Regions from separate parts of the Homo sapiens genome. Here region 1 is linked to region 2. The links are contacts of gene promoters, found by promoter capture Hi-C in blood cells and fetal thymus (Javierre and others, 2016). All regions are on one chromosome and are shown on one strand. Each heading gives the region's core, a stretch centred on a gene start or on the middle of the fragment in contact. The rest is flanking DNA. Distances are from core to core; before and after follow the strand shown. Region 1 holds the start of COPRS (coordinator of PRMT5 and differentiation stimulator). Region 2 holds the start of EVI2A (ecotropic viral integration site 2A).

What was found. Contacts are between HindIII fragments. The CHiCAGO score rates a contact against its expected background, and 5 or more counts as called.
Region 1: a fragment that was not itself captured here is called in contact with the fragment with the promoter of EVI2A in region 2 in 1 of 17 cell types (fetal thymus); the score reaches 5.0 in fetal thymus.

The regions. Positions count from the first base shown.
Region 1 is chr17:31,855,754-31,862,375 of GRCh38, reverse strand. COPRS (coordinator of PRMT5 and differentiation stimulator) reads left to right here and starts at 3,132. Exons shown (of 4, transcript NM_018405.4): 1 at 3,132-3,275; 2 at 5,511-5,577. The coding sequence starts at 3,177. UTP6 (UTP6 small subunit processome component) reads left to right here. Exons shown (of 19, transcript NM_018428.3): 19 at 1-1,472. RefSeq lists a silencer at 2,982-3,411 and an enhancer at 3,471-4,145. The HindIII fragment of the contact is 179 bases long and covers 4,898-5,076 here.
Region 2 is chr17:31,318,812-31,324,624 of GRCh38, reverse strand. EVI2A (ecotropic viral integration site 2A) reads left to right here and starts at 3,003. Exons shown (of 2, transcript NM_014210.4): 1 at 3,003-3,130; 2 at 5,602-5,813. The coding sequence starts at 5,612. All of the region lies in intron 36 of NF1 (neurofibromin 1), which reads right to left. The HindIII fragment of the contact is 8,918 bases long and covers 1-5,028 here.

The DNA.
Region 1 (6,622 bases), core at 3,738-6,237, 540 kb before region 2:
AATGAATTCGTAACATTACATTGTAAAAATGAGCCATAATATATTTTACTAATCCTCTGGTTAGACTGTCTTTTTTTTTTTGAGATGGAGCCTTGCTCTGTCATCCAGGCTGGAGTGCAGTGGCTCCATCTCGGCTCACTGCAACCTCCACCTCCCGGGTTCAAGTGGTTCTGGCTCAGCCTCCCGAGCAGCTGGGTGGGATTACAGGCACCCGCCACCGCGCCCAGCCAATTTTTGTATTTTTAGTAGTGCGGGGGTTTCATCATATTGGCCAGGCTGGTTGCGAACTCCTGACCTCATGATCCACCCGCCTTGGCCTCCCAAAGTGTTGGGATTACAGGCGTGAACCACTAAGCCTGGCCTGGACTGTCATTTCTAATTTTTTTAAAAATTAGATAAATGCTGTTGATGAAGATTCTTGTCAATCTTTGTTCACATCCCTGGCCATTTCCTTAGGAGATTGACATCCGACAGTGGAATTACTGGATCAAAGGATACTGCTTTTAGAGAATACTGATATGTATTGCTGGTTTGCTCCTTCTTTCAAGCAATACATGAAAGTGTCAGTACCCTTACCTGTACTGGTGTAATTATATCTTTTATTTTTACCATTTTATAGGTGAAATGTGATATGTCATTGTTTTACCATACTTTGATATTAGTGAAGTTAGTGTATTTTATGTTTCTCATCTTTTTACATCCTTAGACTATTTAAAAATTTTTTTTCTTACTAATTTATGAGTTAATTTTTTTTTTTAAATTGGACAAGTTCTTGCTTTGTCACCTAGGCTAGAGTGCAGTGGTGTGATCATGGCTCACTACAGCCTTAACTTCTGGGCTCAAGAGATCCTCCCACCTCAGCCTCTTGAGTAGCTGGGACTGCAGGTGCACACCACCATGCCTGGTTAATTTAAATTTTTTTTTGTAGAGACTGGTCTTGCTATGTTGCCAGGGCTGGTCTCTTAAACAGTTGGGCTCAAACAATCCTCCTACCTCAACCTCCCAAAGTGCTGGTATTATAGGCATGAGCCATTGTGCCTGGCCAGAGTTTTTAAAAACATATTCAGAATATTAATATCTTGTTTCTCATTTGTTGCAAATAATTTTACCCCCAGCCTTGTTTGTGGTGATTTTTTTTTTTTGAGACAGAGTCTTGCTCTGTGGTCCAGGCTGGAGTGCAGTGGTGTGGTCTTACTGCAACCTCTGCCTCCTAGGTTCAAACAGTTCTCCCTGCCAAAGCCTCCCAAGTAGCTGGGATTATAGGCACCTTTTGTGGCGATTTTTGATGCCCAGAGGTATTTTGTGTGTGTATGTGTGATGTCTGTTTTTAAAATGCTTTGGAAGCTCTTCCTGGTGCTGAGAACAACTCTTTTTCCCCAAGCAGTTAATTTTGCCAACACTATTTGGGCAGTTATGTTTCTCTCTGCTGATTTGTGATGTTACCTTTATTATATATTAAATTTCTATGAGTATTAGAGTCTACTTTAGAACATTTTTATTTTAAGCTTTTGTACTGTTTTCTTTTTCTTTCTGGTTTTTTTTTTTTTTAGACCAAGTCTCACTCTGTCGCCCAGGCTGGAGTGCTGTGGGGCAATCTCTGCTCACTGCACCCTCCACCTCCCGGGCTCAAGTGATTCTCCTGCCTCAGCCTCCCGAGTAGCTGGGATTATGGGTGTGTGCCACCACGCCTGGCTAATTTTTGTATTTTTAGTAGAGATGGGGTTTCACCATGTTGGCCAGGATAGCCTTGAACTGACCTCAAGTGATCTGCCTGCCTCGGCCTCCCAAAGTGCTGGAATTACAGGAGTGAGCCACCGCGGCCAGCCCCTGTTTTCTTGTCATTTGTTTTAAAATAAGAAAAAAATTCCTCTTTTTCCTGTCCCTTAAGTCCTGGGATGTTTAACATTCTTAATCTTATTTGGCACTTTAATTTTACGAAAGAGATATGTAGATTAGGGAGCAAAGAGGATAGTGGTAGTCTCCTTAACACAAGGCTATAAGGGTGGTCACCTGGGGTCATCACATCCCTGTATCTGATTCTCAATATTGCAGGTTATGAAAACACATCTAGCTAGTACACCTAGAGTTGCACTGTTAGAAACAGTAGCTCCAAGGCACATGTAGCAATTTAAATTTATTAGAATTATTCAATTTATTCACATTGGCCACATTTCAAGTGCTCAGTAGGTATATGGTTACTATATTGGACAGTACAGATAGTAGAACTTTCATTTCCACTTCCACCATTAAAGAACGTTCTATTGGACATTGCTGACCTAGAGGCAGTTAGCCTTGGGGATACTGACTCCTGTGTAGGAACATCTACATATAGAACAAAAATAATATCGAATATTGTGTGTCAGTTTTATGCTAAATTTTTTCAAATGCCTTTTGTGTTGTACAAACAACACAGTCTTTGAGGGGGATGAAGGAAGAGGGTCTCATGTCCTGATGTTGACGTGATTAGCACACCTTGAGCTGGTTTGTTATTAGAGGTTAGGCACTGTGGGGAAGGCAGGGAAGGCTGTCTTTCCAGTTGGGCTGTTCCCAGCTCAGGCCCTGCCTATCCCCAGAAGCCACCTTTCGAGGCAAAATGGGAAATAATTAGGTTGTCGGTATCAGGCGTTGAGCATGGAAATACAGGAATCCCGAATGTTCAGGATTATTATGAGTAAGCGTCGTGGCCTGTATTCTGTGTCCACTGCATATTGCAGTTTGTGTCTTAATCATCTATCTTGGTTTCTAATGGATTAACTTCAAAGACGATCATTAGCTCAAGGTGGAGGTCACTGGGTTGCTCATGTGTCTTACCCACGCGGGGTTTTGAAGCTGGAGCACACCCCGAGTGGCCGAGTAGGGTACGCTTGGCGTTTCACACGCAGCTAGTCGTGCAGCCTTAGGATATGCACCGAGAGGAGTTTCCAAAATCCGTCTCCGAGATTGTTTCAGATTTCGCGCTGGGAGGGAGGGGCGGGCTCCGCGAGGCCGCGCGCCCCGCCCCCTGCGCCGCCCCGCCCCCGCTTGCTCGTGACACCCCCGCGCCCCGCCCTCTTGGCCGGTACCCACCCCCTCCCCAGGCTGATTGGCGCTTCTGCGGCGGATCCTCGGGCGGGCAGCCGGGCCGGCGCGTCACGTGGCCCACGGCGTCCAGGGCGACCAGCCGCGGGCCGCAGGGCATGGACCTTCAGGCCGCCGGGGCCCAGGCGCAGGGGGCCGCGGAGCCGTCTCGGGGCCCGCCGCTGCCTAGCGCGCGGGGGGCGCCCCCCAGCCCGGAGGTGAGCGCCGCGTGGGGGCCAGGAGCAACAGCCAGCCGCAGCCTGGGGCGGGAAGTCGCGGGGCCGGGCTGGGCGGGGGCCGCGGGGCCGGGGAAGCGCCTCTGGCCGGCCTCGGGCCGCCCCGCGACACGGAGCGCTGTTTGGGCTCGCGCTCGAGCTGAAAACGGCCAGGCCGCGGGGCCGCGGGGCTGCGGGGCGGGGAAAGCCGAGGGCGTGGGTGGGCGCTCTGGGTCAGCAGAGACGGCTGTCCGCCCGCTGGGCGCCGCTGCGGATTTGGTAAATGGGAGGTGACGCTGGTGACCGAGAGCCGGGGCCCGCTGCCAGGAGCCTGGGCGAGGGCCAGGTGAGGGCGGCGAGGAGAGGGACTTGACTTTACAGACCTGTGGACCTCTGTCCGTTGGTGGGGATGCCAGCTAACCCTGAGCCCCAGATGTCACATGCGCGCTCCCCCTTCTCCTTACTGAAACCAGAAAGGCCCTGTTTGACGCAGGGTTTCCAGAAACTTGTTTTCATGTAAGCTAGACAGCTCCTGGTTTTCCCGAGAACGTTACAGACCGTTATTACAGTTCTTACCTGTCCTTGTTTACAGTCTGTACCGGCTAGGTGCTGAGCGGCTTGAAGGTAGGAACCCTCTGTTAGGGCTGTTTGCACAGCCTAGCATAGTGCCTGGCACAGGAGATAGACATACCGACTGGATGAATGATGCCTCAAAGATGGTACTTAGCCAAAGTAAGATATGAAAAATGCAGCGACACTTACAAAGAAAATTACTTTGGAGTGCAGAATAGAATGGGACTAATTTTGTCAGGGCATAGCAGGAAAGGATCAAGGTGAGAGGCTGGTGGTGTCTGCAGAGGCGTGGAGATGAGAAAGTGCAGGGCACATGGCCTGGAGTTGGGTCTCAGAGCATGCAGAGAACTATGCTCAACAGGTTGATGGGAGTGGGAGAAGAGGGGACGTGCGAATGCCATGGCTAATTTTGTGCTCTCTCAGTGGAGGGCTGTTGAAGGTTTTGAGCAGAGTAGTGATTAATTCTGTAAGGCTGGGCCAGATGGCTGGATGGGAAGGTGGTTAGGAGGCCGTGGCAGTGGTTTAGGTGAGAGGTCTGACTTCTCCTTGGGCGGCAGTGACCAGAGGTTGTCACTAACTACAGGGAGTGGAACTGAATTATTAAACCCAGACATGACTAGATAATGAATGCTGATTGGAGCAGGTGCCGAGTACAGTTTAGATGTAGCAGAAAAGATGAATTTAAATTCAAGAAATGTTACATTCTTGCCACATGCCAGGTGTTTTCATAAATGGTGTCTAATCATAAGTCCCCTGCAGGGTCAGAACAGTCACCCCTAATTTCTGGAGAAGAAAACTCAGGCACAGTAATTGAAGTGATGTGTTCAAGGTCACACTCTGAATGGATGGCAGAGCTGGGATCAAAATCAGGTCTTTTATGCAGGCAGGGAACATTTCGTGATTCATTAGAAAGAGGTCTTGGAGGTCATAGGGTTTCAGGAACTTCTGAGTGATGGGAGCAGAGAAGCATTTGGTTGGCTGTGCGGGAAGATTTTCAGTTAGATTAGAAATACTGCCTTCAGTGCTCAGCATTGCAGAGGAATTATAAAGCTTCCCCCACCTCAGTGTGTTGGTGAGGAAACAGAGAATTTGATAGAGTTGTTTACTAGCTATAAAGTTGTTAAGTAACTGAAAAGGTAAAACGTGTACCTGGGGGTGGCAACCGCAGGGAACAGCTACCAACCTATGGCTGAAGGAACAAAGAGATGAAGTTGATTAAAATTTAAAAGCTTAGGGAAAAGGCTCTGCAGAGCTGAAATTCCAACCTTTAAGGAGAAGGCACTGCCCCAGCTGATGGTAGGGGGTCTCTGAGCTTGGAGGAGAGTCCTGAGACCCAGACCTCTAAAGAGAAGGTGCAGTGATAAGACTGGCTCTGCAAGAGTTCGCAGAACTGTATACTGGATTCTGTGGCCACTATAGGAAGGCATTCCTGCTGCCACGGTGAAGTGTCATGAGGTGATGCCTACATGAATAGGAAGGAACAAGGCCCATCTCCCTCCAGCCTTGCTCAGTTTAACAGGGCAAAGTAGAAATGTGGGTGGCAGAGTCCCAGCCCTGCATCACCAAGGGGAGTATGGAAGAGTGGGTGGGGTTGAGATGCAATAGCTGAATACTGGGCATACCCCAGATACCCAAGTCCTTGGTAATCATTTCTTCTTCCTGCAGGCTGGCTTTGCTACAGCTGACCACTCCAGTCAGGAGAGAGAGACTGAGAAGGCTATGGATCGACTAGGCAAGTAGATGGCAGAGACGGAAGTTGGGGAGACCAAGGATGTGAGGAGAGGAATAGTCCCTCTGTCTCATTTACCTTCTCTTTTAGCCAGTCCTCTCTGCTGCTTAGTGGCCTTCTCTGCCCAGTTGAACAGTAACCTCCTTTGGAAGCCTTGCTTGGAGCTTCCTTAAGGGAAGTCCTGAACTTTTCTTATGTTCAAATCCATCCTTCTACCGAGAGAAACAGCTTGAAACGGTGAAAATAGTACAGCAGTCTCACCTTATTCCTAGGGGATACATTCTAAGACCCCCCCGCCCCAATGGATGCCTGAAACTGCTTTTTTTTCCTCCTATATATACTATTTCTGATATGGTTTAACTTATAAATTATGCATATGTGATTAATAACAATAGTAATATAGAACAATTATGCCAGTATACTGAAAGTTACGTGAATGTGTTCTCTCTCAAAATATCTTTTTTTTTTGAAACGGAGTCTCGCTGTGTCACCAGGCTGGAGTACAGTGGCACGATGTCAGCTCACCGCAACCTCCGCTTCCCAGGTTAAAGCAATTCTCCTGCCTCAGCCTCCCGAGTAGCTGGAACTACAGGCACGCGCCACCACACCCAGCTAACTTTTGTATTTTTAGTAGCTATGGGGTTTTACTATGTTGGCCAGGCTGGTCTCGAACTCCTGATCTCAAGTGATCTGCCCACCTAGGCCTCCCAAAGTGCTGGGATTACTGTGAGCCCACGCTCCCAAAGTGCTGGGATTACAAAGGCATGAGCCACTGTGCCCAGCCCCCTGCCGTTTTTTTTTTTTTTTGAGAGGGAGTTTTGCTCTTGTTGCCCAGGCTGGAGTGCAATGGCACAATCTTGGCTCACTGCAACCTCTGCCTCCTGGATTCAAGCATTCTCCTACCTCAGCCTCCCAAGTAGCTGGATTACAGGCATATGCCACCATGCCCAGCTAATTTTTGTATTTTTAGTAGAGATGGGGTTTCACCATGTTAGCCAGGCTGGTCTCGAACTCCTGACCTCACCTGATCCATCTGCCTCAGCCTCTC
Region 2 (5,813 bases), core at 1,754-4,253:
GTACCACTGCACTTCAGCCTGGGCAACAGTGAGACTGTCTTAAAAAAATAATAATAAAATAAATAATATATGTATTGTTAGAATTAGATAGAAGGAACAAGTTCTACTATTCATAGTAAGGTGACTAGTTAATAATAACATTGTATATTTCAAAACAGCTAGACGAAACAATTTCTTTTCTTTGAGGCAATGGATATCCTAATCACCCTGATTTAATCATTACACATTATATGCATGTATCAAAATATCACACATACAGGCAGGGCATGGTGGCTCACGCCTGCAATCCCAGCACTTTGGGAGGCCAAGACGGGCAGATCACCTGAGGTCAGGAGGTCAAGACTAGCCTGGCCAACAGGGTGAAACCCTGTCTCTACTAAAAATACAAAAATTAGCTGGGCGTGGTGGCACGTGCCTGTAGCCCCAGCTACTTGGGAGGCTGAGGCAGGAGAATTGCTTGAACCTGGGAGGGGAGTTTGCAGTGAGCTGAGATTGTGCCACTGCACTCCAGCCTGGGCGATAGAGCGAGATTCCAACAAAAACAAAAACAAAAAAAACCAAAAAAATCACACATACTCCATTAATATGTACAAATTATCATGTATCAATAAAAAACTTCACCTCAGAATTTTTAATCTTGTTGGGAGAAAATAAGATAAAAATATGACAAGTCAAATGATTTTAAAACAACACAAATATTTCAAGATAGAAGATATGAGGTAGAAAGTAATCACTTATCAAAGGAAATGCAGAGAAAATACTGTTATTAAGACAAAGGAGAGAGAGAGAGAGATTAACACAAACTGGGCAGTCAGTGAAAGCTACATAGAAGATACAGTGGCTGAATCAGGTAAGGAGGAATGCAGACTCAGCAAGAGGACTGGGCAGGCCTTATGGAGAAAGGCAAAAAGGAAAAGAAACAGGTAACTAGATGTGTTGAAGAGACAGCTAGTCTAGCCAGAATGGAGGATTCAGGTAGAGAAGTTTTGAGAGATAAAGCTGGGAAAATACAGAATAGTCAAATTGTGGAGAGACCATAACTGCCCAACCAAAGGGCTTAGGTTTTCTACTAGGGGCTCACCATTTCTCAGCATATGTTCTGTGGACTACTGGCGTCAGAATCAACTGTGGTGCTTGATAAAAATGCAGTTTCCTGGTCCCAACCTGGACCTACTAAATATGGATCTATGTAGTGGGGCCTGGAAATTTTTATCTTTTTTTTTTTTCCCTTAACTCAGGCTGGACTGCAGTGGCACGGTCACAGCTCACTGTAGCCTTGACCTCCCCAGGCTCAGGTGATCCTCCCACCTCAGCCTCCTGAGTAGCTGGGACTACAGATAAGCGCCACCATGCCCGGCTAGTTTTTTGTTTTTGTTTTTTTGTATTTTTTGTAGAGACAGGATTTTGCCATGCTGCCCAGGCTGGTCTCGAATTTCTGTGGCTCAAGTAATCCTCCCGCCTCAGCCTCCCAAAGTGCTGAGATTACAGGTGTGAGCCACCATGTCCTGCTTTTATAATTTTTAAACAATCTTCTCATCTGATGTTTATGTACACAAACATTTCTGAATCATTGTTGTATGTATTAGGGAACTGTTCAACCGGTTTTATTTTCCCTTAAAGAAAGGGTGGTATGACCAAAGACAGTGATGTATACAAGATATAAGAAGGATTCAGGGCTACCGAAAAGGCACTGTAGAGTCTAGGTATGACCTGATAAGGATCTAAAATAGTACTGTTGACAGTAAAAACAGGGAAAAAGAAACTGATCCAACAATATGAAGGAAGGACCAACATGATTCAAAGTCTGATCAGGACTGAGAGGACTTAAATTAAAATGATGTGTTGTATACTAAGCCTCTGATATTAGAATGTTGCTATCATGAACAGAAACAAGAAGACTGTCACAGGCAGCCTCCTTTAAAGAAAAAATAAAGTTCTTTTTATTTCATTAATTTAATTAATTTTTAAGAGATGGAGTCTTGCTATGTTACCCAGGCTGGATTTGAACTCCTGGGCTCCACCAGTGATCCTCCTACCTCAACCTACCTAGTAGCTGGGATTACAGATATGTGCTGCCATATCCAGTTCTTTTTTTTTTTTTTTTTTTTTTTTTTTTTTTTTTTGAGACAGAGTCTTACTCTGTCTTCCTGGCTGGAGTGCAGTGGCATGATCTTAGCTCATGCAGCCAAGATCTCATGATCTCTGCAGCCTCCACGTCCCGGGTTCAAGCTATTCTCCTGTCTCAGCCTCCCAAGTAGGTGGGACTACAGGTGCATGCTACCCTGCCTGGTTAATTTTTATATTTTTAGTAGAGACAGGTTTTCTCTATGTTGGCCAGGCTGGTCTTGAACTCCTGGCCTCAAGTGATCTGCCTGCGTCAACCCTCCCAACGTGCTGGGATTACAGGTGTGAGCCACCGTGTTCAGCCCATACCTAGTTCTTAAAGTCTGTTTCAGTCATGTTAAACTTGAGGTGATGACAGGATGTTTGACAGTTGTGTGTGTGTGTGTGTGTGTGTGTGTGTGTGTGTATACACACACTACACCACACGAAAGCATTTTCTGTCCCATATAATCTAAGTTTACTAGATATTTTCTCAAATAATTGCTGCAGTTCCACAATTGTTACATTATCTGATCAGTATCCCATGGACTCCAAACTCACATTTTCAAATCAGTCTGTAGATTTCAAATAAGTCTTTTAGAGAAGATTTGAAATGGAAGATACCATTTCAAAACCTCTTTTGAATGACACTAAAGCATGTAGCAGGCCTATAGAATGAGCATACTGTCAAAAGGCATTAAGTGGAAAACCCTCCCTGCTCTGGAGGCGGGGATTGGTTCTACAAAGCCTCCTGTCATGCCAGTGGCCAACTAGAGAAGTTGGAGCTTTTTCGTTGTTTTTTTTTTTTTCCCTCCTGTGACATGTGCTTTAGTTGCAGTGGAAAGGAAATGTGTCATCTGTGGTTTGGTTTTAAAAGTGGAAAACTAGCTGCACATATCCTTTTTTACTGCAGATTTACTTTAAGGCTCATATTCTCCAAGTCTATTCTGCTTTAAAAAGAAGACAAGAAAAGAAGTGGTTTATCAAAATCACGTTATAATCAGATTTTGACCAAGCATTTTGTAAGGTAGGTCATATATATACGGCTTTTCTTATGCCTTTTCACTTCTAACGTCTGACAGATTAGTGTTCGAGGAAATGCTATCAAAGTGTGTAAGAATCTCACTAACAAACTAGAATTGTGACTGAAAATGTATACTTTTTTTTTCTGTCCTGTTACATAAATTTTAAGTTAGAAATGAAAAAATTTGCCATCGCCATGGAGTTTTAAATTAGGATTACGAAGGATCTAAGTTTGGTTTCCTCAAGTAAACTGGAAATGTTTTGTTATTTTTCAAAAGTTAAAAAATAAATTTCTCATTACTAATGCTTGGACATTACAAATTCTACTGAAAATAAATTCTACTGAAAATGATCAGATATAAGAAAACTTCTGATAACACAACCTGGCCTCCAAGGCATAAACTGGAGTAAAAACAGTCCTCAATTCTCAGGCATTTGTAAGGGCAAGAGAAAGTCTCATTTTGTCATACAGTTTGTTTATTTGGGCACTGCAGTACATCTGGCTGAAGACAATCAACAGCAGGCCTATTATCTGTTCCGTGGTAAGCACTGTTAAAATGTGTACCAATACTATGATGTATACTACACTGTTAATGAACTAATGTGAAAAGAATAATCTACTTTAAATCATTCTAGCATCTAATACAGAAGTCCAGTCTAGTATAAAAAGATGGAAATTACTTGCTAATCCAATTTCAAGTATTTCTTTTTGTGGAAGAATCATGAAATATCCAAAGATTTATGTCACTAAACTTAAAAATTAAAGCTGAACACTATTATACAAAAGCCAGTGACTTGGGCCTTTAATTGTCTACTAAAGGTCATAATCTAAAAAGTAATCTTAATCCTGGAATATTTAATAGTTTTTCCTCCCTACTATTAATATGAAATATAGTCTCCAGTTAGCATTGTTTATTACATGCTACTTTTGTTTGCATAACTCAACGTATCACATTTCTTATTTTCAATTTCTGTATTTTAATAGTATACAAATGTCAGCCAATGACATATAACAACCATTTCTTATAAAACCTTGATGTTCAAAAGCCTGACTAGCAGTGGCATCCATGTTGCTTAGGAGTTGGTTTGGAAACAAAGACTTTCAGGCCCTACCTATACTAGCTAGGTAAGAATCTGCCTTTTTTTTTTTTTTTTAAATAAAAGGACTCCTAAGTACATTTGAGAAGAATTTCTATAGCATACGTAGGGTTCTTAACCAGGCAATTTCATTTAGTAAATCTCAGGAGAACAATATAGTTTTGCTTTTAGTTCATTCAAATAAATGCTAACAATAAAATACTCCTTTCAAAAGTAGCTCAAGACAAACTGGTATATTATTATAAGATACCTTAATAATGATTATAAATCTTTCCTGCTGGGTTAGCAGTACATGGAACTGTTAAATTCTAAGATATGCCATTTCTATTTAAATCAATCATTTGGTAGATTTAAAAAATGTATAATATAACTTGTCTCCTTTTTGTACTAGTTTCCAGCAAGCTCAGGGCCAAAGCGGAAATTCAACATTTTCAATTATCTGTTGAGATGCTTATAACCTGCCACTTCATCCCAAATCATCAAGATCCTGATGCTCTATTTCTATTTTATTACACATTTTTTTTTACAATTATGTCAAAATCAGAAAAAATGCTAGGTATAAATGATGCTTTAAAAGAAAACCCAGCAACTTTTGTTGAACTTTTAAGTCTACTCAGAGGAAATTTGCTGTTTTTTTTTTTTTTTCTTCAGATTTTTAGGTTGAGAAAACTGGTATGCCTTTGCCTTCAGAAAGACACAGTCAGTCCAGGGAAATATAAATGAAAAGAGACAACCACCACAGTAAAATTGCGTTCACAAATACACTTACAAATGTATTTCTAAGTACCAGCTTTATTCTAAGCTTCAAGATGAACACCCAAGAAAAAAAAAGAACACCTTGAATTTCTATTTGAAGTTCAGTTTCTTTTGGTTGCTACCAAACTTCCCCTCTTTCCACCAAAAAAATTTGCATTTATTTCATACATGAAGCAAGAAGCTCAAGGCCACATTTCTTCTGTAAAGATTGGTGACAGGTTAGAGGGTGGGTAGTTTCTGTAAGAATGATCCTTAATTTTTTTTTTTTTTTAAAGAAGGAATCAGAAAAGTAAAAGCAGAACTAACTGACTCAAAGCAGAAGTCTAGCACGCTTCAAAGGAAGAAAACTATATAAAGCCATGATAGTCCACTTAAAATGATTAATATTTATTTGTAATGCTAACTTCTAGCATCTAAAAGTGTTAATAGAAATTAAAATGCTTCTTCATACATAGCTGAATAGAAAAGAAATTTAGTTGAGAAGGAATTCAGGGTAGCGAATATTAGGCATAAGCTTGTAGTTTACTTGTAACATCTCAACACTATCTTTTAACTACAATTACCAAAACTAGGATCCATTATTCTTTCACAAACTAACAAATTATATTGCTATCCCAACAGATTGCCAAGCATGCCCACGGACATGGAACACACAGGACATTACCTACATCTTGCCTTTCTGATGACAACAGTTTTTTCTTTGTCTCCTGGAACAAAAGCAAACTATACCCGTCTGTGGGCTAACAGTACTTCTTCCTGGGATTCAGTTATTCAAAACAAGACAGGCAGAAACCAAAATGAAAACATTAACACAAACCCTATAACTCCTGAAG